3 separate regions of the Homo sapiens genome follow, and all the other regions are linked to region 1. The links are contacts of gene promoters, found by promoter capture Hi-C in human tissues and cell types (Jung and others, 2019). All regions are on one chromosome and are shown on one strand. The core of a region is centred on a gene start or on the middle of the fragment in contact, and the rest is flanking DNA. Distances in the headings are between cores, read along the strand shown.

Evidence for each region. The method cuts DNA at HindIII sites, captures the fragments that hold promoters and counts their contacts. A contact is called where the count stands out against the background at its distance.
Region 2: a contact is called between a fragment that was not itself captured here and the fragment with the promoter of CBS in region 1, in 8 of the 25 tissues and cell types used here (IMR-90 fibroblasts, aorta, dorsolateral prefrontal cortex and 5 more).
Region 3: a fragment that was not itself captured here is called in contact with the fragment with the promoter of CBS in region 1 in 3 of the 25 tissues and cell types used here (hippocampus, lymphoblastoid cells and mesenchymal stem cells).

What each region holds. Positions count from the first base shown.
Region 1 is chr21:43,073,591-43,077,472 of GRCh38, forward strand. CBS (cystathionine beta-synthase) reads right to left here and starts at 2,245. Exons shown (of 17, transcript NM_000071.3): 1 at 2,180-2,245. The HindIII fragment of the contact is 35,360 bases long and covers 1-3,882 here.
Region 2 is chr21:43,030,693-43,034,300 of GRCh38, forward strand. It overlaps PKNOX1 (PBX/knotted 1 homeobox 1), which reads left to right. Exons shown (of 11, transcript NM_004571.5): 11 at 1-3,239. Among named protein-coding and RNA genes, the nearest start is that of CBS, 43 kb to the right of the region's middle. The HindIII fragment of the contact is 5,777 bases long and covers 1-3,608 here.
Region 3 is chr21:43,010,373-43,014,074 of GRCh38, forward strand. PKNOX1 (PBX/knotted 1 homeobox 1) reads left to right here. Exons shown (of 11, transcript NM_004571.5): 5 at 2,696-2,866. Among named protein-coding and RNA genes, the nearest start is that of PKNOX1, 38 kb to the left of the region's middle. The HindIII fragment of the contact is 7,946 bases long and covers 1-3,702 here.

The DNA.
Region 1 (3,882 bases), core at 995-3,494:
TTAGCCAAGCATGGTGGCGCACACCTGTAGTCCCAGCTACTCGGGAAGCTGAGGCAGGAGAATCGCTTGAACCCGGGAGGGGGAGGTCAGTGAGCCGAGATCGCGCCACTGCACTCCAGCCTGGCAACAGAGCGAGACTCCGTCTCAAAAAATAAAAATAAAAATAAAAATAAAAGAAAATAAATAAAGTAACAAATATACGACATCAGTTTAAGATCTTAATAACAGGGGAAACTGGGGGAACTCTATCTATTTTTTCAATTTTTCTAAATCTAAAACTGCTCTTTTTTAAATTTTCGAGACGGAGTCTCCCTCTTGTTGCCCAGGCTGGAGCAGTGGTGCGATCTCGGCTCACTGCAACCTCCACCTCCCGGGTTCAAGCAGTTCTCCTGTCTCAGCCTCCTGAGTAGGATTACAGACGCCCGCCACCACATCCGGCTAATTTTTGTATTTTTAGTAGAGACGAAGTTTCACCATGTTGGCCAGGCTGGTCTCGAACTCCTGACCTCAGGTGATTCGCCCGCCTAGCCTCTCAAAGTGCTGGGATTATAGGAGTGAGCCACCCCGCCCGGCCTAAAACTGCTTTTTTTTTAAAAAGCCTATTAAAAAAGAAAAAGTTGCGGAAGCCGGCTGCCTTTGGAAGCCCTTGGAGTATGCTGTTCAGGTGGTCTCTGCGCACAGGCCCTACCCAGGCCTCAGCTTGGCCTCCTGGACTTCCCAGCCTCCCCTCCACCTTTGCAATTCACCAGACTGGGGGCCAAAGCGGCTTCAAACGACCCTGGAGGGTGGTGCTTTCAAGGTCTTGGGACCACGGACTTGTCTGAAAATCCGAAGGCGTTGGATCTTCTCTTCCCCAGAAAAATGCACCCGCTTTCAGAGGTTCGTGTCCCACGCTTTTCTTTCTATCCCAACCTTGTAAGAAGCCGCCGCCGTGAGCGGAGCAGCACCTTCCTCCGCGGGTCGCGGGAGTCACCTACGGGAAGGGACTCTCCGTCTGGCACAGGCCCTGTCTGGCCTGGGGCGCGCATGCTCCGCCGCCGAATCTTCCAGAAAGCCGTGGACCCGAGGCCCCGGCAGACGCAGGCGGCCCAGCGCCTTGCTTTTGGCCCCTCGCCTCGCCCTGGAGCCCTCTCTCGCAAGGTAAGGGACTGCCGGGAACGCAGATCGCAAGCCGTCGGGGCTCTGTAGAACTCAGAGGCGCTCGGCGGAAAGCTCGCCAGGCGACCCAGACCCGAACCCGCGGGCTCCCCAAGACAACAGCGCCGGGCGGCCGGATGCACGTGCGTCCCGGGAAGGCGGGTTCAGCTGGCATCGCCTGGCCGGTTCCGTTCGCTCCTTAAACCACAAGACCCCCTTGGGGTCACGACGTTCCCGGGGCACCCCTGCACTCGCGCGCCAGCACTCCCGGAGGGGCCTGGGGAAGGCCACGCGCACGGAGAGCGGGAAACTCCTCTAGGTTTCCAGGTGGGAGATCCAGACCCTACTGAGACCCGGAAACCGCCGGCCACTCCGCCTCCGGAAGCGACACTTTGGGACAAAGCTGGGGACAAGTAAGCCCAGAAGATCCTCGGGAAGCCGAGAATTTCGCGCTCCGCTCTCCCACCCACGCTCCGCCTCCCGCTTGCATCCTACAGCTCAGCTGCGGTCTCGCCTGGGGCTCAGGGAAGTGAGGTCCCAGGAAAACCTCCATCCCCCGAACGCAACCTGGGCAGAGCCCCGCGTCCCTCCCCCAGCGGGCACCCACCTCGCGTGCCGCCCGCGCAACGACAGCGTTTACCGCCACCCCACACGGTCCGCCAAAAAGGGCGATTTGCAAACAGCCATTTCCCATCCACAATGCAGCGAACTCAATGCTGGGCACCGAAACGTGCATCTCCCCCGGATTCCCACCCCGCGTCCCTGCTCCACGCTCCAGGACTCGCCGCCAGTGGGGTCCACTCCGCCGGCGCGGGGGCTGGGGTGGGAGCCCGGGGCCACGTGCACGGCCAGCCCCCATCTTCTGGGCGGTCAAGACCGCAGGCGTGGGCGCCGGTGGGGCGGGGGTCTTGGGAGACCCTGTCTCGCCGCCTTTCGGTGCAGATGATGCAACTCTGGGCGGAGGCGCGGAGAGGGAAACCGGGACCCAGTTGAGATCCTCTGTCCAGAGAGGGGAGCGAGTCTCGGTGGGGCCGGATCTCACCTGGACGGATACATGGAAAAGAGGGGCGAGCGGCTGCCCCGACTGCGGCGAGGCGGAGACGGCGACCCCGGGGTGGCGGCCTCGCGGGGACCCACGGCGAGGGGAGCAGGCGGGCGGTGATTGGCGGAGAGGCGGGGGCGGAGGCCGGCGCCGGCCAATGTCTCGTGGCAGAGCACCCGCCCCCCCAGCCCCTCCTCCACCCCACCCAGCCCGGGCCCCTCCCCCCCACCCCTTCCCCACCCCGCCGCAGCCTGGGACCCTCCGGCCTGCCCGACCCCCGCCCTCCCCGGGACCCCGGCATGCCCCCACCCCAGTCCGCCCGCCCCATTCCCACGCCCTGTTGATTCAACCGCAGACCCGGGTCGCCGCCCCCTCCCCCGCCTTCCTCTTCGCCTGAGCCCGCCCGCCCCGGGTTCCAGCCACCCCCACCCGCGGACCCCGGTGGTGTCTTCTACCTGGTGTTCCGATGCTGTTTTACTTGGTTAACTTCTTGCCCTTCGGGAATTTAAGGAACCTTTACTGATGAGCTTGAAACGTGCGTCCTGGTGGGTGGGGGGCCCTGCGCGTCCTCGAGGACCGACCCCGAGGGCGTGTGTCGCGGGCCCGGGAGGGGGCGCCGCGCCGGGGCGGGACTCGATGGCCGCGCTCTGTGGCCGCCGGACGCCGTGCGCAGCGCCCCGCGTGACCGCGCCCAGAGCCGGGTCCGAACCCCGAGCCGAGGCGCAGAACAGTCGCCTTGCGCGGCTCCGGTGCGGCCCACGGCCAGGGGCTGCCGGGCGCTCTCGGGGACGGGGCCGACTCCGCGCAGGGTGGTAGCAGGGGCGCCCCGCGGGGCTCCTTCGCCAGGTCCCGGAGGCCGCGGGCGGGGCCGTTTCCCAAACATCGTGCTCTGGACTTTCAGAGGCTGAACCTGATCCCCCCGCCCTATGGCTAAATGGGGGATCCCAGGCCCCCGAGTCTCCCCCCGGACCTGCAGCGAAAGACACGGACGGTGCCCATCAGCTCTGGGCAGAGGAACGTGCTGCGCCTCCGCAGCGTCCCCGGCTCAGGTCAGAGCGATGCTCCGCAGCCTCCTCCGGCCCGCGCAGCTCCGCCGCGGTCTCTGCCACGTGGGGCTCACAGTAGGGGAGGGAGTGAGACGTGAATTAGAATTAAATGTCCACTGGCAGGAACTGACACGAAGAACAATAAAGCCGGCGATGTGGGGAGGGGACAGGGATGGAGTTACATCATGAAGGCTCTGGAAGGTGGCATTGGAGGCCGGGATCGCGCCACTGTCCTCCAGCCTGTGCGACTGAGCGAGACTGTCTCCAGAAAAAAAAAAAAAAAAAAAAAAAAAAAAAAAAATCCTGTCCAGTCTTTATAAGAAGAGAGACGTGGACACAGACACGCGGAGAGAAAAAGGCCATGTGGAGATGGCGGCAGAGATGAGATGTGCTGCCACCAGACGAGAAATGGCAGGGATGGCTGGCGGCCTCCACAGGGCTGGGAAAGGTGGCCAGGGCCTCCCTCAGAGCCTTCAGCCAGCCTGCGGGAGAGAAAGATGATAAACGGTGTTGTTTTTGTTGTTGTTGTTTGAGACAGAGTCTGTGTCACACAGGCTGGAGTGCAATGGTGAGATCTTGGCTCACTGCAGCCTCAGCCTCCCGGGTTCAAGCGATTCTCCTGCCTCAGCCACCCGAGTAGCTGGGATTACAGGCACG
Region 2 (3,608 bases), core at 398-2,897, 43 kb before region 1:
GATAAAAAAGCTATTTTTATAAATTCGTTATGAATTGGATGATGACTATATTGAGGATAAAATTTCTAGAGAAGAAACAATACATGCTTGCTATTAATATTTCAATTTGGAATGTTCTGAATTGACCAAATTTAATGAACCTGCCCAAAGTTAGCTACCGTTCCATGGTTCTTTGCTCTCCCCGGGTAGTGATGAACATTTACTACTATAAAAGAAACAGCTATTTAATGAAATTTTGATATCTGCAAATTTTTGTTGATATGTAATGCTCAGATTGCATTTTACACTTGATCTAAACATATATCGAAAGATATCTGCTAAACAGGACTTCAGGTAAGTGAGGTGAAATGGTAGCCAGTGACCCGTTAGGAGCTCTCACCGTACATACTCCAGTCTAATTTAAATCTGACCACAGTTGCATGGTCGCTTTACCATGTTAGCTGTGTATTGTTTTAAAAGTTTTAACTTCAAAATATGTTATGCACAGAATGTTTATTATAAACTAATATAAAATGTGCTCTACCCCATTGGCTCAGAGCTAGGGCAAACAGCAGATATTCAGACTTTATTACTTAACTAGCGGACATCCCTGGAGTCCCAGCAGCGAGCTGGTCTGGCGAGGGCACCTCGGCAGCCCCCACGGGTTGGCTCCTACGTTTGCGTTTGTGGCTGGTCTCCTGGTGTCAGTGTTCTCTTGTACGTTGTTGCTTTCGACTTTTCAGAGCCCTCCTGCTCACTTGACCACGTGAGATTTGGAATAACTGTAGGACTTCTGTTTCCTGGTAACAAGATGAACCGAGAGAGTGGGCTGGGTTCTGTTTTCTTTGGTTTTGATTTGTTTTCATTGTTTACTTAGGAGTGGTGCTTTTTCTCAGAAAACAGGCCACGGTGTTTCATACAGAATGTCTTCATATCATCTGAAATGGTATGGCTGAAGTTCATTTGTTTACAGGGTCGGGAATGTCTTCAGTTCTTGAGAGTCAACAGTAATGATTGGTTGTAAGCCAAGGGACATTTTAAGCTAGTGAAGAGTTTTTTCTGGAATTGATTTTTCCCAAAAGAATATATTAATTGAGGTTAAGAAGTCAGTGGGAAACACACAGAAATTTGTTTTAAAATCTTTCAGGAGCTTTACTGAAAGACTTGGTTATCAAGTCTTTTGGGGAGAGAATGACATTTTTTTTTTGAGACAGAGTTTTGCTCTTGTTGCCCAGGCTGGAGGGCAATGGTGCAATCTCAGCTCACTGCAACCTCCACCTCTTATGTTCAAGCAATTCTCCTTCCTTAGCCTCCTGAGTAGCTGGGATTACAGGCATGCGCCACCACACCCGGCTAATTTTGTATTTTTAGTAGAGATGGGTTTCTCCATGTTGGTCGGGCTGGTCTCGAACTCCCGACCTCAGGTGATCTGCCTGCCTCAGCCTCCCAAAGTGCTGGGATTACAGGTGTGAGCCACCGCGCCCGGCCGAGAATGACATCTTAAAGCCACCATTGCGTTCCTCATTTGTGAACTGTCTTCTCATATTTTAAGTCAAGTCTATAAGATCATTTTTAACCTAAGTTCCAACTTTGTTGGACTCCTTAAAATAAGCACCCATGAAAGCCAGCCAGCCCTTCCTCCTTCCCTCACCACCCTCCGTCTCTTCGGCTGCTTGCTCTTTAGTGTAGATTAGTGGAAGCCATTCACAGAATGTAGACTCATGTATAGGTCACCGTTTCTTTCCCCCACTAGAAATCACATTCACTAAGCAGTGGATTGAATTTAAGAGTGCTGCCCCTGCCCGGCGCAGTAGGGCGTGCCTCTAGTTCCAGCTACTCGGGAGTCTGAGGCAGAGGATGGCATGTGCCAGGAGTTTGAGGCTGCAGTGCACTATGCTTGCACCTGTGAATAGCCACTGCACTCCATCTTGGGCAACACAGTGAGACCCCCATCTATAAAAAGAGAGCACTGCCTGAACCTCGGTGGCACTGGGAAGCTCTGGCCTGAGAGTTAAACACCCATGCTGAATGATACAGTGTGCATTCTCTCCAGCTGCAAACTTTCTTCAACTTTCCTAAATTCTTACTAAATTCAGAGGAATAGGATAAAGATCACTTAGAGAAAGGGTGCTTATGGACATAGCCTGAGTTTCCTTTAACCTCTCTGCAATGGGTGCTTTTAACTAGCTTCTACATGGCAAGCTGTTTCAGTTTGCAAAATCACTGCCCAGCATGTTTGAGGTCAGTTGGCACCTTAAAACACCTGTTCTCCAGCCCTTGGACAGTGGAGAGAATCTGTAAAAGTGTGACCCCCTCTAAGATTTCGTTTTAAATGATCAGATTCGGTTCCAGTTTTATTCTTGTTGAGTTTTTCCCTATGAAGGCTCCTTTTGAATGTGTCTTGAGACCCAAATTGAGCATGTTGCTGTTATTCCTGCCCTGCACCTGTGGAGCAGGAGTGGCAGGGCTGGCTGTGCTGGGTTCCAGCTCGCTCCCACCGAGGGACTAGCTTGGCCTTTGCGCTTTGATTCCAGATAGTAAGATGAGTGGAAGTGTTTATCGAGCATGCAAAAGAAACCCTCACGGCTAAGGGCTCTGGGAGTTGTGTCTGTGTGACCTGAGAGTGATCCATCTCCTGCCTGTGTGAGGTAGCAGTGGGCACTTTTCATTGAGACAAACTCCAGGGTGTCCAGAGGGGGTTCTGCCCCTTGTGAAGGCCCATTCCTGGCACTTAGAGACAGAAAGAACTCAGCAATCTTTCGTTCTAGTTATATTCGGTCTTTGAAACTGACAATCTTTGAAATGTGAATACTGTAACAATATGTTTTCTTGGATTGTTGTCTTTAAAAAGGATTTTTGTGAAGCAATTGATTTATCAAAGCAAAAAAATTAAAAATAGAAACTTGCTTTATGGATGTTTTATTTTATAAAGCTCATGTCACCAAAAGCTGCTTCTCCATTTTATGTAAAACATTGAGAATGTTTTCATGTTTTCTGGTGACATGTAGGGTCTGTAGTCACCCCTGCATATTGAGAAACTAGGACCACACTGCATCGGACTAGTCAGGTCCATTTACATGTCCAAGAATCTTTTCTTAAATTCCTTACTTTGTTCATTCATTGGCTGTTCAGGCAGAAAATGGAAACAGGTAGCTTTTATGTTTTTTATTATAGTTTTCCACAAATCTAATTATTTTGATAGTTACAAGAAGATAATGATTCATCAGTAAGCTAACATAATCCCTTTCATAGTTCATATTATAAATTTTCATGACAAGAAAGTTCCTGAAGATTTAAAAGGTACATTAAAACAATTTCAGAGGGTTTTTAATCTTTGTTGTCCAGAGTGTTATAACTCCCAACAACTGTTCATGCTTAGAGGCTAAAGTCAGCAGACTTAGTATTTTAAAAACCACATGCAAAATTATGAGTCTTGTTGGTAATTAGTAGTGACAGCTGACTGTATTGTTTCAAGCAATGTTTTCATTGGTTACAGAAAACTGAGGCACTGTGTTGTATTTCCAGCTCCCTTAGTTCAGAGGTGAGAGGACGGGCATGAACTTTATTAATGTGGGGCCTCAGGCAGCCCCAGTCTCTCTAGGCTTCCAGGGCTTCATTTATGAAAAGGA
Region 3 (3,702 bases), core at 844-3,343, 63 kb before region 1:
GTGGATATCCCCAAGTCTTCCAGCCTTCTCTAGGTATCTTTTATTTATTTAGTTTTTATTTTTAGATTTATTTTATTTTTGTAGACACATCTTACTGTATTCCCCCAGATGGTCTCAAACTCCTGGCCTCAAGCAATCTTCCCTCCTCAGTCTCTCAAGGCCCAACCTACCCTTTCCTTTAAAAATAAAATAAAATAGGCCAGGCGTGGTGGCTCACACCTGTAATCCCAGCACTTTGGGAGGCCGAGGTGGGCAGATCACAAGGTCAGGAGTTCGAGACCAGCCTGGCCAACATCTGGTCTCGATGTTGGCCAAAATCCCATCTCTACTGAAAATACAAAATTAGCCAGGCATGGTGGCACATGCCTGTAGTCCCAGCTACTCAGGAGGCTGAGGCAGGAGAATCACTTGAACGCAGGAGGCGGAAGTTGCAGTGAGCCGAGATTGTGCCACTGCACTCCAGCCTGGGTGTCAGAGTGAGACTCTGTCTCAAAAAATAAAAATAAAATAAAATAAAATAAAATAATTTGAGCCTCCATGCCAAATGGACACGGGGATTCAGTTCTCTGCACAGTGTTTGTAAAGGTCCGTAGGGCTGGGGTGTTCGGGTGGCATGTCTGTGACCTGTGTCTGTCCTTGGCTTATCATGGACATGGACACAGACTTGAGCTGTATTCTCCAAGACAGCTCTGTCTTTTTTTTTTTTTTTTTTTGAGACGGAGTCTCGCTCTGTTGCCCAGGCTGGAGTGCAGTGGTGTGATCTCAGCTCACTGCAAGCTCCGCCTCCCAGGTTCAAGCCATTCTCCTGCCTCAGCCTCCCGAGTAGCTGGGACTACAGGCACCCGCCACCACGCCCGGCTAATTTTTTTTGTATTTTTAGTAGAGACGGGATTTCACCGTGTTAGCCAGGATAGTCTCGATCTCCTGATCTTGTGATCTGCCTGCCTCAGCCTCCCAAAGTGCAGGGATTACAGGTGTGAGCCACCACGCCCGGCGACAGCTCTGTCTTGAGGCTGACAGTGATTTGTGATGCCCTCCCCCCAGGGCCAGGGCTCCAAAATCCAGCGTTTTCTGTGCCCTCCAGAGGCAATGGAGAACATCTTGGTTCCGTCATCACTGGATTGCTCTGAATGAGCTGCACCTGAGGCACCTGTACAGCACTGTCAGCTTTGGGCAGACCACACTCTCTGGGTGTGCTCTCCTGCCAGAGTGTAACCACGTGTTTACTTCTCAGAGCTGGGTACACAAAGATCCGGCATCAGGGAACCTTCACTGGATTCCCTTCGAGCCATCTTGGTCCCATATCAAAACCCTGGTTAGGGCCTTCAACAGAAAAGGTTTTTGGAAAACTCATTTTTCCTGAATAAATTGCTGAGGTCTTAGTTTTTAAGAAAATTCTCATTATATACTCGATGCTTACCATGAAACAGATTTTGTGGGTGAGTTATCTGACTTGAATCTGTCTCCTCCTCTCTGAGATGAGACTAACAGTGCATGCTCTTTGGGTGAGGATCCGATGCTCTCTCCACCCCTGAGTCTGTGGTCCACATCCATCTTCCCATTGGCCCACACCTGGCTTGGCCCAGTGAGTAGAGCACAGGTGTCCTCTGCACCCCACTAGGCTGGCAGGGACCAAGGTTCTCTTGACTGGTGAGTGTTTAGCACAGGGCCTAGCAGAGTTTGACACTCCATCATTTTTGTTACTGAGTGATTCATTTATTCACTGCATAGATACCTACGAATTCCTACCACCAGATTTACAGGTGAAGGAGATGGGCTTCGGAGCTGCTGATTCATAGGCAGCTGGTGCTTATGAAAATGGCTGCATTATTGGTATTAGTTATCTATTGCTGTGGGACAAATTACCCCAAAATGTAGTTACTTAATATAAAACTATACAACTTTGGCCAGGCGTGGTGGCTCACGCCTGTAATCCCAGCACTTTGGGAGGCTGAGGCAGGTGGATCACCTGAGGTCAGGAGTTCGTGAACAGCCTGACCAACATGGTGAAACCCCATCTCTACTAAAAATACAAAAATTAGCTGGGCATGGTGGTGCACACCTGTAATCCCAGCTACTCAGGAGGCTGAGGCAGGAGAATCACTTGAACCCAGAAGGCAGAGGTTGTAGTGAGCTGAGATCGCACCACTGCACTTCAGCCTCCAGCTTGGGCAATAAGAGTGAAACTCTGTCTCAAAAAACAAAACAAAACAAAATGATATAACTTTTAGAAAAATCGCAAGAGAAAATCTTGAGGATCTAGAACTAGGCAAAGACACCAAAATGGAACTTTATGAAAATGTAGCACTAGCCTAGGGTGAGTGTGGATGTATCACTATTTGTGGATGTAGAAACAGGAGTAGATGAGGGTGAGTCACTTGTCCTGCCTGCCACAGAGCGAATCAGTGGAAGGGCTAGGCTTTGGCTCACAGCCCACACACCTAGCACTGGGATGCACCGAGGTCACCACCACGCGCCTTTGTCTTCCCTGCACACCAGATGCAGCCAAACACCAAAGCCCAGGTCAGTGGCACCGGAACAACACATCAGTTTAGAGGATTTCTGATGTTATTCCACTTTGGTTATTGGCAGTAGAGATGGTTCTATCTAATGACTAAGAACTGGTATGTAGGATCATGATAACTTACAATAATGCCACCTTTTTCTCTGAAAGTCTTCATTTTCTCTGCTCTAGATGGTAAAAGCAATCCAGGTTTTGCGCATTCATCTTCTTGAGCTGGAAAAGGTTAACGAACTCTGCAAAGATTTCTGCAGTCGATACATTGCTTGTCTGAAAACAAAAATGAACAGTGAAACTCTGTTGAGTGGAGAGCCTGGAAGCCCGTACTCACCAGTGCAGTCCCAGGTACTTACATTTGGGGGTCTCGCTTTCCCTCTCTGCCACTGTGAACATCTGCATTGAGTCATGAGACCACCAGCTCTTTCAGAATTCACTGGGTCATCTTTATGACTTTCTACAAGAAGGACCCTCTAGGTCTCTGACCCCAGCCTGGTTTGGGAATGAACTCCCTCAGATTATGAAGTGAGTCCTCAATCTGCATACTGGGCCCCCGGTCCCATGTTTATGGAAGGCACAATTCCATTCATTTCTTTCTTTTATTTCTTCTGAAAATATTTTACTTATTCTTTTGAAAAATTGTGTAAAATACACATAATATAAAATTTACCATCTTAGCTATTTTAAAATTTACAGTTCAATGGTGTTAAGTTTATTCACATTGTTGGGCAACCATCAACACCATCCATCTCCAGAACTTTCTCATCTTCTCAAACTCAAACTCTGACCCCATTAAACACTCATTCCGGATTCCCCCTCCCCTAGCCCCTGGAACCCACCGTTCTACTGTCTGTCTCTGTGAATTCGATGACTCCAGGTCTCTCATGTTAAGCGGAATCGTACAGTGTTTGTCCTTCTGGATCCTTTGCTTGTTTCATTGTGCAGAATGCCTGGAGGGTTCATCCATGCGGAAGCACTATTGTGTTTTAGCCATTCTGATGATATGTAGTGATATTAATATTTCTTTGTGGTTTTAATTTTCATTTCCCTGATGGCTAATAATGTTGAACATTATTATACCCTCTGTGTATTTTCTTTGATAAAATGTCTGCTGCTTATGTCTTTTGCCTTTTTTTTTTTTTTTTTTTTGAGACAGAGTCTCGCTCCATCACCCAGGCTGGAGT